Regions from separate parts of the Homo sapiens genome. Here regions 1, 2, 3 and 4 are each linked to region 5. Evidence: promoter capture Hi-C in human tissues and cell types (Jung and others, 2019). All regions are on one chromosome and are shown on one strand. Each heading gives the region's core, a stretch centred on a gene start or on the middle of the fragment in contact. The rest is flanking DNA. Distances are from core to core; before and after follow the strand shown. Region 1 overlaps CHST8 (carbohydrate sulfotransferase 8). Region 2 overlaps CHST8 (carbohydrate sulfotransferase 8). Region 3 has its middle 6.0 kb from the start of PEPD. Region 4 overlaps PEPD (peptidase D). Region 5 holds the start of CHST8 (carbohydrate sulfotransferase 8).

What was found. Contacts are between HindIII fragments. The study calls those that stand out against the background at their distance.
Region 1: a fragment that was not itself captured here is called in contact with the fragment with the promoter of CHST8 in region 5 in 7 of the 25 tissues and cell types used here (bladder, dorsolateral prefrontal cortex, lymphoblastoid cells and 4 more).
Region 2: a contact is called between a fragment that was not itself captured here and the fragment with the promoter of CHST8 in region 5, in 2 of the 25 tissues and cell types used here (dorsolateral prefrontal cortex and small bowel).
Region 3: a contact is called between a fragment that was not itself captured here and the fragment with the promoter of CHST8 in region 5, in 8 of the 25 tissues and cell types used here (H1 embryonic stem cells, dorsolateral prefrontal cortex, heart left ventricle and 5 more).
Region 4: a fragment that was not itself captured here is called in contact with the fragment with the promoter of CHST8 in region 5 in 3 of the 25 tissues and cell types used here (dorsolateral prefrontal cortex, liver and spleen).

What each region holds. Positions count from the first base shown.
Region 1 is chr19:33,705,143-33,707,842 of GRCh38, reverse strand. The region is part of intron 3 of CHST8 (carbohydrate sulfotransferase 8); the gene reads right to left. Among named protein-coding and RNA genes, the nearest start is that of CHST8, 85 kb to the right of the region's middle. The HindIII fragment of the contact is 7,606 bases long and covers 1-2,700 here.
Region 2 is chr19:33,742,059-33,744,758 of GRCh38, reverse strand. The region is part of intron 3 of CHST8 (carbohydrate sulfotransferase 8); the gene reads right to left. Among named protein-coding and RNA genes, the nearest start is that of KCTD15, 53 kb to the left of the region's middle. The HindIII fragment of the contact is 3,245 bases long and covers 1-2,700 here.
Region 3 is chr19:33,526,433-33,529,132 of GRCh38, reverse strand. No RefSeq gene overlaps it. Among named protein-coding and RNA genes, the nearest start is that of PEPD, 6.0 kb to the right of the region's middle. The HindIII fragment of the contact is 5,201 bases long and covers 1-2,700 here.
Region 4 is chr19:33,499,405-33,502,162 of GRCh38, reverse strand. PEPD (peptidase D) reads left to right here. Exons shown (of 15, transcript NM_000285.4): 4 at 1,162-1,225. Among named protein-coding and RNA genes, the nearest start is that of PEPD, 21 kb to the left of the region's middle. The HindIII fragment of the contact is 5,542 bases long and covers 1-2,758 here.
Region 5 is chr19:33,620,588-33,623,287 of GRCh38, reverse strand. CHST8 (carbohydrate sulfotransferase 8) reads right to left here and starts at 1,335. Exons shown (of 5, transcript NM_001127895.2): 1 at 992-1,335. RefSeq lists an enhancer at 1,630-2,374. The HindIII fragment of the contact is 24,734 bases long and covers 1-2,700 here.

The DNA of each region.
Region 1 (2,700 bases), core at 62-2,561, 85 kb before region 5:
AGCCAACAGTTTGTCAGTATCCCTTAAATTTAACGTAAATTTACTATTACAACCTAGCCATTCTACTCCTAAATATTTACCCAAGAAAAATGAAAACATAGGTTTGCATAAAAACTTTCACATGAATGTTCATAGCAGCATTAGTCCTAATGGCCAAAAGTATCAACAATCCCGTATCCAGCAGCTGGTGAACAGATCAACCGCAATTCCATGTAATAGAATAATATTATTTGACAATAAAAAGAAACAAACTGATATGAGTAAATATCAAAAAATATGACTCTCAAAACCATCATGCAGAGTGAAAGAAACCAGATATGATAGACCACACAGTGTATGATTACATTGATATGAAATGTTTAGAAAGGGTAGCGCTATAGTGATAAAAAGGAGATTTGTAGTTGCCTGGGGCTGAGGGTGAAAATGGGGAGTGATTGAAGTGGGCACAAAAGATTTAGTGGCGGGGGCAATGGAATTATCCTAAAATTAGGTCAGGCTAGGTGGCTCATGCGTGTAATCCCAGCACTTTGGCAGGCCAAGGCAGGAGAATCACTTGAGGCAAGGAGTTCAAGACTAGCCTGGGCAACACAGCAAGACCCTGTCTCTACAGAAAAATTGGAAAGTTAGCCGGGCACAGTGGCATGTGCCTGTGGTCCCAGCTACTGGGGAGGCTGAGGTGGGAGGATCGCTTGAGCCCAGGAGTTTAAAGCTGCAGTGAACTCTGACCTGCACTTTAGTCTGGGAAACACAGCACCCTACCCCTGCAACACTGCTAAAATACCTGCTTGGGAGGAGTCAGGGTGGACCCCAGAAAGTCCCCATCACCTTACTCACTGTGAGGCCCCATTGGAGCAGGGATCTTTCAGTAAACGTCTCTAAAATAAGTGAGTGAAAGTGGAAAATTTCCCTGGCAGGAATAACACACCTCCTCCCGGCCTGTGGTCCTCCCACAATCATGGCCTGTCCTTTTCACTCCCCAGTGAAGGGACGAGGCCTGCACACATTTTGCAAGCTCTGTGTGTTGTACACGCTTGACGCGCACAGTTGATTTAAGCCCAGAAAATCCTTTAATTACTGCCGCTACTTCTGGCTGGGTTCTGGGAAGGAACTAATTCAAGCAGCGATCACTTGACCTGAAATATTATGAATGTAATTTCATTATTTGGTCTGTGCGGGTCGTGGGCAAGGGGTTACAATAATTGGCTTTGCTGAGTGCCTGCTGGAATGGCAATTTGTCACCCAATCCTGTGGCTGACAACCGACAGACAACTCACTCTGTGGGGCCCAAGTCATTTGCCCCTGCCTGCCCCATGACCTGGCAGGTGACATTGTCAGGGTACGCTCACAGCAGCCAGCCCAGACTTCAGGGTGAAGTGCTTTCCACATGAACCGTAAGGCATCTGTCCACCCATGGGTGTATAGTAATACTGAGGTGAGCACACATACTTGTACACAGCTAGGATTATGGGTGAGGGCCAGATGCACACACACATGCACACACATGGGCACCTGACTCTTCATCAGGACACACACACGTGTGCACAAGAACCAGAACATGTCTGCTGTGAGCAGGAATGAAGCACGCCCTGACAGTCTGAAGGGCAGTGCCGTGCAGCTCCCCAACCTCTAACCCAGGCTGGCCCTCCAATGCCATGCATCTCATAGTGTGGTGCTTGCTCCCAGCCCTGAGTGGTTGTCCGGTCACCAAGAAGACTTCAGACTTTTGGGATCTGAGGAACCGGGTTTTAGTTCAAGCACTGATACTTCCTGGCTGTGTGACCTTGGGCAAGTGACTTTGCCTCTCTGTGCTTCAGTTTTTTCATCTATAAAATAGAGACGGGTACAGCGAGGCTCTGGCATGAGGATATTGGTAAAGCATGTAAAACACAGTGCCTGGTACACAGTAGGCACTGAGTGCTCACACCATCATCATTGCCCATACCACACCCCTGGATGCCACCTCCTTGAATGCTCTCAGGACTCTTGGGTCCCTCTCCTAGTACTGGGGACATCGCTGTGACACAGAGGCAGCAGGGAAGGCGAATCTGCAGAGTCCCTTGCTGGGCCAGGCCAGGCCCCTCTCCAAAGGGACCCTTGCTGAGTGTGGCTGCCATGGTGCCCTAGGGGGGCAGAAAGGGAGCCAGGGTGGCCATGCCTGCCACACCCCATCACTGTGGGAAGCAGGCTGCCAAGTCAGAAATCCTCCTCCATTTACACCCACGGGCACCCACACCCGCATCTCCAGGTAGATACTGGAGAGAGTGCCCACTCGCAGGAAAGCTTTGCTTGAATTGATTCTTCCTTTGCTACAGCAACAGAAGCTTGTCAGTGGGTGCAAATATTTGCATGTGAGTAACTGTGCGTAAATGAAGGAGGTTTTAATTAGGTGCGCTCCCCAGAACCCCACTCTCTGGCCCTTGCCTTCCCTGTATCTCTGCTGACCAGTCACCTCCCCGACCCCTCAGGTCCCCTGCCTGACCTGAACAGTGAACAGGTATCTGGCAGGGCTCCCGGCTGCTGAACCAAACAATGCCACTGAGGGGCTCTGTGCAGCCACTGTTGGTCAGCGGAGCCCAGGAGATGCTCTGCTCATGGACCGCTTGGGGTCTGGCTTCATGGGGGTCCTATGGGGCTGGAAGTAATTCTTAGCATCCCCTTCCCACCAGGAGACCCACCTCCTCTGTGTCCTCCCAGGGGGTA
Region 2 (2,700 bases), core at 27-2,526, 120 kb before region 5:
TAAATAAATAATAAATCAATTAATTAATTAGGTGGGGGTTGTGGTGCACACCTGTGGTTGCAGCTACCCAGGAGGCTGAGGTGGAAGGATTGCTTGAGCCGAAGAGTTCATTCGAGGCTGCAGTGAGCTATGATTGCAGCACTGCACTACAACCTGGCTGACAGAACAAAACTGTCTCTTAAAGAAAAAAAAATGAAGGGGAGAAAGGAAGAGTATCCAGCTTCTGAAGGGTGACTCTTGGCAATGGCAGGCACCTGGCTGAGAAGGAACAGGACCCTGAGAAATGCGTTGGGGACTGTAGGTCGATGCCTGTGAAAGTCTTGAATTCCCAGATTTCCTCTAATCTTCTGGGCTGCAGAAGCACGCCACCCTCTGCAATACAGGCTGGTGGTCTTCCATTAATTGAAGACACCGCAGAGGTCTCTGTCCTGCAACATAACACATGCCTTCCTCAGAATCTGCCCCCACCTTTTCTCCACTAGACCAATAACTACGGTTAAATCACAGCATGTCCCCACTGGGGAAGTGCTAGATTTGCTAAGGGAAGAAAGGAACTATACCCCAAAAGAAAAGAAGGATCCAGAAATCAGGTATTGGCAGGAACCAGGAGAGTACACATAGACCTTGACGCTGGGGCAGGGTGTGCGGGGTAGACAAGAGATCAGAGAGGCTGGGCACGGGGGCTCATGCCTGTAATCCCAGCACTTTGGGAGGCCAAGGCAGGTGGATCACCGGAGGTCAGGAGTTCGAGACCAGCCTGGTCAACATGGTGAAACCCTGTCTCTACTAAAATACAAAAATCAGCCAGGCGTGGTGGCAGGTGCCTGTAATCCCAGCTACTTGGGAGGCTGAGGCAGGAGAGTCACTTGAGCTTGGGAGGCAGAGGTTGCAGTGAACCGAGACTGCACCACTGCACTCCAGCCTGGTCGACAGAGTGAGACTCCATCTCAAAAAAAAAAAAAGAAAAAAAGAAAAAAGCAGAACACAAAGTTGGATAGAGCAGTAATTGATAAGGGAGGATTCTCTTGGGTTAGAGGATCTGACAGTGCAGCAACGACCCCAGGAGACGATGCAGACATGCTGCTAGATGGCTCTCAGATACGTGCAGAAAGCAATGCCCACACTCAATGAAGCAGGGATGATAGAATTGCTGTGGTAGGCCGGGCGCAGTGGCTCACGCCTGTAATCCCAGCACTTTGGGAGGCCGAGGTGGGCAGATCACGAGGTCAGGAGATCGAGACCATCCTGGCTAACACGGTGAAATCCCGTCTCTACTAAAAATAGAAAAAATTAGCCGGGCGAGGTGGTGGGCGCCTGTAGTCCCAGCTACTCGGGAGGCTGAGGCAGGAGAATGGCATGAACCCCCGGGGGGCGGAGCCTGCAGTGAGCCGAGATCGCGCCACTGCACTCCAACCTGGGTAACAGCGAGACTCCGTCTCAAAAAAAAAAAAAAAAAAAAAAAGAATTGCTGTGGTAGATAGTGCAGGAAGAGATCAAAAGGCTCCCAAAGGTGGTTATGCTACAGTGGACATGCTAGGGAAAGCTGGAAAATCCACTACTGCCTAGAAGATACCCCCACCCCTTTCTAAAGCAATATAGAACACACTGGTGAGAGGGGAAGGAGGATCAGGGGGCATATGTTGTGTTGTAGGACAGAGATCTCTGTAGTGTCTTCAATGAACAGAGGGCCACCAGCCTATATTGCAGAGGGCAGAATGCCTCTGCAGCCCAGAGAGTTCAGGAAGCACCAGCATGAGTGAGAAGCCCAGCAGTGCCTCTCCTCTGTAGGACAGGGCTGAATGTAGGCAGTGCCACTACAGACCTGGACACCCCGAGACTGATGGGGGACAATAGGATTGTAAAATAACAGAAACCACACGGTGGTACTTAGCCATCATAACCAAAGTGTGCACACTTGTCCTACTGAGTAGCAATGTTGGTGTAGCAGCCAAGAGGGGCTGATCTGCAGAGAGCTATGGAGGTGGTCACCAAAACATGGCATCCCAAAAAACAAGAAAGTCAGGTGGTCGACAAGCCGATATATACAACAAAAACAAATCAAGGAGGGGTGATCAGCTGTCCCAAGAAAATGGCACAGTTCTTTGCCCACTGTTATGGTTTGGATGTTTTGTCTCCTCCAAATCTCATGTTGAAATGAAATCCCCAATGTAGAGGTGGAGTCTGGTGGGGTGTTTCAGTCATGGGGGTGCAGCCATCATGAATGGCTTGTTGCCCTCCCCATGGTAATGAGCGAGTTCTTGCTCTGTCAACTCACATGAAAACTGGTTGTTTAAAAGAGTCTGGCATGTCTCTTGTTCCCTCTCTCGCTATGTGACATGCCTGCTACCCCTTCGCCTTCTGCCATGAGTAAAAGCTTCCTGAGGCTGAGCAGATGTTGGTGCCACGCTTGTACAGCCTGCAGAATGATGAGCCAAATAAGCCTCGTTTCTTTTAAATTACCCAGTCTCAGGTATTCCTTTATAGAAACACAATGCAAACTAATACACCCAGTTTTCAGATCCAGAACTCAGTGACCAAAGGAGAGACCACATCCCCAAGAAGAACCCCATGGCATCATGGCAAATACACATGGGAATGTTTTCTCAGTCTTTCCCCAACAGGACCCACAGCCATTTGGTTAAACAGGTGTACACTTGGGGAAGGAGAACACTCAGACATTTCTAGATTTTTTTTTGACAT
Region 3 (2,700 bases), core at 190-2,689, 94 kb after region 5:
AGGCTATCTCTTCCTTACATGCAAATCCATGCGCACAAGCAGAGCCCTGTGGCTGAAGCCCCGGACTGGACCAGAGGCCCTGGGTGTAGCGAGGAAGCATCTCCCCTACCCTGGAAGACTTCCTGCTCACCCTTGTTCCTCTCTTTCCCTTTAGCACTGCTGTGTTTGGCTGGACTGCCAGCCTGCTTGCTTGAGGTGGTGTGGCAACCCCAGGTCCCAGCCAGTCCTCTCAAAGGGGCTAAGCACTGGCCCCCTGGGCTTGGGGTTATGGACTCACTCCTTCGGTCAAGGTCGCTCTGTAGCTGAGCAGGGCTACAGTGACCTCACAGGTCATCTCCCCCACCTTCACACCTGGGAGATAAGGATGCTTGTCTCTCCTCACTGCCCCTACCCCTCACATGACCACTGAAATAAGGATAGCACCCCCATGAGCCAGGGGCTGAGCTGAGTGTCTCCTGTGACATTCATCTAATCCTCTCAACAATCCTCCCAGCTGGGACCCATCGTCCCCATTTTACCAATGAGGATGCTGAGGCTCAGAGAGGTTGGGTTATTTTCCCTATGCCACACAGCAAGTAAATAGCAGTGCCAGGAATCGGACCTAGCTTCCTACATCCAATTCCTAACCACTGTGTCCAGGTTCTCTAATAATAAGTACTGCTAGGAATGATGGCTCATGCCTGTAATCCCAGCACTTTGGAGGCTGAGGTAGAAAGATTGCTTGAGCCCAGGAGTTTGAGACCAGCCTGGGCAACACCGTGAGACCCCATGTCTACAGAAAACATGTTTTACATTAGCTGGGGGTGGTGATGCACACCTGTAGTCCCAGCTACTTGGGAGGCTGAGGTGGGAGGATTGCTTGAGCCCAGGAGGTCGAGGCTGCAGTGAGCAATGATTGTGCCACTGCACTACAGCCTGGGGGACAGTGCAAGACCCTGTCTCAAAAACAAAAAAAGAGCAGTAAGTATCAATAAGGAAAGTAACTACCACCACATTTGCATCATGTTAAACTGCCCCCAAGGGCCTTAGTGTTCAAGGGGTCATCTGACCCCTTGGAACTGCCCTGTCAGGGAGGTAAAGCCCATCCCATCTTCATCTCCAAACGGGGAAAGCGAGGACCAGAGACGTCAAGCTGCCAGGAGTCAAGCCCAGGCTTCTGGCTTTGAAGTCCATGCACTTCTTTCTCCATCACACAGTTTCTATTCGAGCATTTTGTGCTCAGGGATATTTATTTGGCAATGACATGGAGGCAGAGCTAGGTAAGAGCTCCAGAGCCAAGACACTGGAAATAAGCTGGGATGGCGGCACACGCCTGTGGTCCCAGCTACTCAGGAGGCTGAGGCTGAAGGATCGCTTGAGCCCAGCAGTTTAAGGTTGAGCTATAATGGTGGCATTGCACTACAGCCTGGGCGACAGAAGGAGACCCTGTCCCCCCATCACTCAAAAAAAGAAAGACAATTGTGTATCCTGTCCCCCGGCATGTAAATCAAAAATTTAAATTATACCAAACCATCAAACAAGAAATTCACACTTATGCTAAAACGAAAATAGCTGCATTCTAGACATTCTGATTGAAATATTCAGGCTTTTATCCAAGCTAAACTTTTCAAGGTTTTACTTGTGGGGGTAGGTTTTGTGTATCTACCCCCACCTCATCTCACCCCATATACACACATCCCCACCCCCAGCAGAAGCCAAAAGGGACATGATAGCCAAGGTGTGGGCATGAGACTTGGGCACTGCAACTGGCTGTACTGCCCATCAAGCGCTTTGAGCATGCAGGGGGTGAAGCCAGGACACTGTATCAGTCCCAGTTACGCCCAAGGGCAGAGTGATGGCAAGGGTCTGAGCAGCTGTGCCAGCTGCCATGTCCTGGGGGTAGCCTGGTGGTGCACTCAGCTGCCAGCCTCCCTGCCTCTGCCTGTTTTCTGAGTCTGTCTCTCCTGCAACTGTGCAACTGGACAGCATTTGAATGTATCCCTCTTCTACTTGAGGTGAGACTCAGGAGCTGCTTGCTACAGAAAAATCTTGACGAGTCGGGGCTCAGAATGAGAAGGGACTGCAGCCAAGTAGTTATGCAGGTGAGCAGCAAAAGAGCCACGGGAAGGAAGAGGCTGGAGGAGAGACAAGACATTGAGGAGGAAGTGCAGACAGGGGTGGGGTCAGGAGCAATCCCAGTGGATGGAGCGGGAGGAGACACAGGTGATCTCATCTTGATGGTGGCATGGACAGAAGGACCGGCAGGTGCTTTCATGAAATGCTTCTTAAAATGACACCATCCTGGCCAGGTGCAGTGGCTCACGCCTGTAATCCCAGTACTTTGGGAGGCCGAGGCAGGTGGATCACCTGAGGTCAGGAGTTTGAGACCAGCCTGGCCAACATGGCAAAACCCCGTCTCTACTAAAAATACAAAAAATTAGCCAGGTGTGGGGGCGGGCACTTGTAATCCCAGCCACTCCGGAGGCTGAGGCAGGAGAATTGCTTAAACCCAGGAGGCAGAAGTTGTGGTGAGCCGAGATTGTACCATCGCACTCCAGCCTGGGTAATAAGAGCAAAACTCCATCTCAAAAAAAAAAAAAATAAAAAGAAAAGAAAAGAAAAGAAATGACACCATCCTAAAATGACAAGCATCCTTCTTAAAATGACACCCTGAGCAGAGTCCCTAAAAGGAACAGTTGAGGCCAGGCTCAGTGGCTCATG
Region 4 (2,758 bases), core at 25-2,524, 120 kb after region 5:
TGTCTCCCCTGTGCAGTTTGTGTTCCTTTCCCCTTGCGTAAGCTCTGTCACTAACAGAGACATTGACTTATCTCCTGACCAAGAGCCTGGGGGTGGTGGCTTGCTGGACCCAGGCTGGAGGTCTGCCTAGCACAGCTGTGACCAAAGGGCCCATCAGGAGGTGGACGAGGGCTGCCCAACCTCATCCATTCTGTGTCTTCTCACTGGCAGATTTTTCAGGGGTAATGAATAAGCTTGAGTTTTTCTCATCACATTGAGTAATACTGATACTGACTTTCTAAAAATGCTAATTTTTGGCTGGGCACAGTGCCTAATGCCTATAATCCCAGCACTTCGGGAGGCTGAGGCAGGAAGATTGCTTGAGACCAGGAGTTTGAGGCTGCAGTGAGCTATGATTGTGCCACAGCACTCCAGCCTGGGTGACAGAACGAGATGCTGTCTCTAGAACATAAAATAAAATAGTAATAATAATAATTATTATTATTTGAGATGGAGTCTCGCTCTGTCACTCAGGCTGGAGTGCAGTGGCACCATCTTGACTCCCTGCAACCTCCGCCTCCTGGGTTCAAGTGACTCTCCTGCCTCAGCCTCCCGAGTAGGTGGGAGTACAGGCACCCGCCACCGCGCCCTAATTTTTTGTATTTTTAGTAGAGATGGGGTTTCACCGTGTTAGCCAGGATGGTCTGGATCTCCTGACCTTGTGATCTGTCTGCCTTGGCCTCCCAAAGTGCTGGGATTCTGCGGCTGACCTTAAAATAAACTTTCCTTTAAAGATGCTCCATGAAGACCTGGCAGGCAGATTGTTTTATGCCACAGAGGGACGGGTGCACTGGCTGGCTGCCCTGGTGGACTGTCTCTGGCAGTGGAGGGGATGATAGGGGTTTTGTCTGCAGGGGCTGGCTGCAGGTGGCTAGGGTCACGGAGGAGCGGGGCTTGCTGAGGAAAGCAGCTGTGGTTCAGCCGTCACTCCATGGCCTAATGGCCTTTGCCCTCCAAGTGTGTGTTGGGCCGACCTGTTCGGTGCCGGGTGCTGGGTGCTGGGTGCTGACCGTGATAGGGATGGGACTGGGGCTCCATGGCCTGGGCTTGGCAGGCAGGAAGGTGGCCATGCTGAGCCATTACCAAGCCCTGACCCTGATATTCCTTGTGCTTTTCTTTGAGGATCCATTCCAAGGAGCACTTCAAGGAGAAGTATGCCGTGGACGACGTCCAGTACGTAGATGAGGTGGGTAGCCGGCTCCTCCTCTGAGCAGCCCAGGGCTTCCAGCATGCCTTCCACTCCTGGAGTTCCTCTCCTTCCACTGCCACAACCTTGCTGGATGTCAGGGACACTACCACCTGGCCACCAGTCCCTGCGCCGCAGGTGCTCCCATTTGGAAGGAGTAGGCAGCAACCCATGCCTCAGGCTTCTCTACGGAGCCATTGCTTTGCCTGGGAAGGCCCCTGACTCTGTGGGTAGAAGTGTCTGGTGACCTGGGTTGTGGCCGCTGAGATTACATGAGGTGTCTCTGAGAGGCGGGCCTGCCTGCAGCGGTGGCACACGGTCTAAGTCACCACAAGGCTGGGCCGGGGTCTTCGTGTGTCTCGAGCCCTGGTTGACTGCAGATGCCACTGTCAGAAAAGCCCGAGGCTGTGAAAGGCTTGTAGAGTAGCATTGGAGGTCCCCTGACTTCAATCCACTTCTCAGTGGGGTTGTCCAGCAGGTGTCGTGTGGCCTGGGTAGGCATGTGGCTGTCCTCTTGGGGTTTTGAATCTGTGCCAACCAAGTTCAGGCAGGTCAAAGGGGCTGCCCTGACTCCTCGACTCCAGCTCTCCTTCCTGCCAGTGGGGCAGGGCTGGGACAGAGGCGAGAGCACAGCTGGGAGCCCCTGTGGTCTACTTGACCAAAGGCCCTGACACTAAACCACTGCCTGGCACACAGGAGGCCTCTGTGCTCTGGCCCTGGGCGCTGTCACAACCCCACGTCCTGTGCAGGTCAGTGCCGTGTAGAATGTGAAGCACCCAGAAGTCAATGCCTGCCACTGGGAGTCCAACCTGGACCTGGCAGCATCAGCTTTGGACAGGGCCATCCTGTAGCCACATTTCCCCAGACAGAGATTATGTGTCGGCCATGCTAAGAGCCGGGGCTGCAGTGTGGAAGTGGCCAGGGGAGCCAGTTCTGGCGGCCAAGCAGCTTCCCCCTTCCCCTGGGCAGGACACAGCCTGGTTGAAGATGACGGCACTGGGTGAGAAGCAGGTTCCCAGGGATCATGGCCAGACACAGTGCTGTGAGAGACCAGTTGTCTCTGCCCAGCATGTGGGGGCCCAGCCCGGCCCATCCAGCTCGGGGGTGGCCAGCCCTCTTTGACTGCAGGTGGGCCAGTACCATGTGCCCAGCCCTGCCCCCGGTACTGCTGTCCTGGAATATGTTTTCCATTTCTCTGTCTTTCTCCTATCCATCTTTTGAGGCCTTGCACCAGCCTTGTAGCAGCCACTGTATCTGCTGTAGACTCTGGCCCACACTGGTGCCCCTTCCCTGAGCCCTCAGGACCAAGTTGTGGACACCATGGACGCTGACTGTGTTCTGATGTGCACCCTGCCCTTGACTGTCTTGTATTTGTCTTGAACGTCCAGTTCTTTTTCCCCAGACGTTCCTCTTGCACTCTTTCCCTGCCCAGTCCCAGGGACATGTAGGGCATCAGAGGTGGCCGAGACCCAGGGCTGACCTCAACAGCCCAGGGCACAGTCCAGTGCAGGAGGTGACCACATGAGTGAACAG
Region 5 (2,700 bases), core at 86-2,585:
CAGAGAGCCCCAGGATCGGCGCCTACTTCTGGGTTAAAACAGACAGCCGGGCAGCAGCGCCCACAGCCGAGGGCGCCGCAGCCGCTTCAACTCCGGGTCGGGGTCGCGGGCCTGGAGACAAGATGTACGCGAAAGTTAGGGCGGCGGGAGTCCCGCACTGGAGAAGGAATCGGGGTCACATCAGACCCAAGCCCCAGCATCGGGCACTGCCAAAACCCGTGATCGCCCTCCTGGCCCGGCTGGCCTCCAGCGAGGCCAGAGCGGGTCTGCAGAGTCGGTAGCCGGAGTTGCAGCCGCCGTCAGAGCTCGGCTCGGTCCCGCGGCCAAACGGATCATTTCCCCGCCCCCTGGAGCCGCCCCAGGCTCCGACTCCCGCACTCCCGACACACGCACGCACACACCTTCACACCATCGCTGACGCACGCACACTCGCCTCCAGCACTCACAGGCCGGTGCCCTGGAGAGTTGCGGGTCGGGGACGCGCGCGACGGAGCCGCTGGGTAGGAAGCCAAGGCCACTTAAACTTCCCCCATAGTCTCTGCCCGCCGCAACCCGTCCGGAGCCCCGGCTCCGAGCGCGCCAGGAAGCCCCAGCGCCCCGAGCGCTCCTGCCTGGCCCTCGGCGCTCGCTGCTCAGCGCCCGACGCCGCCTCCCCGCGGGCAGCACCGAGGGCCAGGAGGCGGAGCGGGAGTCCGCAGGGACCAAGAGGGCCCGAGGGACGGCAGTTCCCAGAAGCGCGGCAGCGAGTGAGATCCAAGGAGAGAAAGTCTAATTAAAGTTCCCGCTACCGGGGCCGGTCCCCAAAGTGCAACCAGACCCGAGCCCCGCGCGCCCACCTCCGCCCGCAGCTTCGGACTCCCATTCGCGTGCGGTGGCGGGGATGGCGAGCGGTGCAGTCCGGGGCCCGCTCGGGACCCCTTCCTGGCGTCTCTGCAGGCCAGGAGCCTGCGCAGGGCGGGAACAGGGGTGGGGCAGGGGCGCAGCCACTTACCTGGCGCAGCGGACGCACCCGAGGCCGCGGGCGCCTCCAGTCCGGGAGCGGTTCTCCGCGGCGGATCCTCTGCTTGGGGCGCGCAGGCGGCGGAGAGGACCTCCGACCCAGCTCGGGCCCGGTGCCTCCGCCCGCTCCAAGCGGAACCCAGTGCGATCTGTGGGCGAGCAGCGTGGGGCCGGCAGCCGGAGCGTGCGGGGAGCGAGAGGGCGCGGGGCGGCGTTCCTCTTCGGCCCCCGGCGCGATCGGTCCCCCACCTCCTGCTGCCGCCGCCGCCTCGTCCTCTCTCCTCCCCGCAGCACTGCCGGATCCGGCTTGCGCGCCGGGAAGGCTCCCAGCGAAGTGAGAGCGAAGCCTCCGGCGAGGCTGGAAATAGCGCCGCGCCCGCCCGGCGCCCCGCCCCCGGCCCGTGCCCCGCCCCGCCGTGGTGGCGGCTACGGCGGTGGCCGGGCCGGGCGGGGATCGCTCCAGCGATGCACTCGGCCCTCCCGGGGGCTCGCGGGCGCCGCGCCCACGCGCGCTCTGCGGCTCCCGCGGCCCCTCTGGCAGCGCTCTCAGAAAGAGTCGCTGCTGGGCGCGGTCCGGCGGCCGCGGGGGTGGGAGCGGTCGTGGCTGGGGCTGCGCCGGTCTCCCGGTTCAGGAGAGCCGGACTCCGGCCTGACGCTAGGCTCCAGACCGCGGCCAGTGCTGCCACTGCCTCGGTGGGTCGCACGCGGCGCCAACCCGGGAAAAGGACCAGGCGTCACCGGGGCGGGCCTTGACCACAGCGGGGCAGGGGCGCGCGCCCAGGACCCGATGCTGCGGGGGCGCAGGGCCGGTGAAAGGCGGAAGATTGATCCTGAGGAAGATTCTGGGATATCCCTGGGCTTCAGCTCGCGTGGAATTCGGTCAAGGCCGCGAGCTGCCTCAGGCCCGGGTGTCCGCATCCATCCTCAAATCCCTGGGGCTCTAGATTCTGCTGAAAGTGCCCTGCGAACAGGTGCTCCCTTCAGGACTTCATCCTGGAAGTTTGTGTCGGGTCACCAGCCTGAGAGCGGGGCCAACCGACCCTCTTCATACACACTCGGGAAAACAGCGTGGAGGGTGGAACCGGCCCACGGCCACACAGCACCGGGACAGAGTAGGGACAGGAACACGGGGCCCTGGATTCGGGTCCTTGTTCTTCCTAAGAAGAGGCAGCCCCAGCCTGCAGGGGACAAGCAGGCCTTGGGAAGGGGGGCAACTGCTTTCTCACAGGAGCTGGAGGAAACTGTGCACACAGTCACCTGTTAGTCTTGAAGGGACACTCAGTATTTTCAAACAACAGCAGAGAAGCCTTTAATAAAGTGAAAGACCCTTACTCTCTCCTCTCTAATGGTACCTGCTGGCTGGTTGGCCTGACTCCTACCAGCTGACCTAGAGTGAGTGATGGAATTGGGGAGTGAGCTGGGCCCATGGGTCTTGACTGACCAGAGTGGGGGACACCAGGCGGAGAGCAGAGCCACTCCTGGGGACGGCCAGGGAGCCCCTCAGCCCCAGGGCCATGAGGCCTCCTTAATGCCCCAGGTAAGCTCAGAGCATCCAAAAATAGACCAGGACAGATAAGAAGATAAATAGAAGCATGACAAAGAGATCATGGTCTTCCTTTAATTCTTGCAGCAACAGAGTAGACATTATCACTCCCGTATTACAGATGAGCGAATTGAGATGCAAAAATGCCACCATTTTGC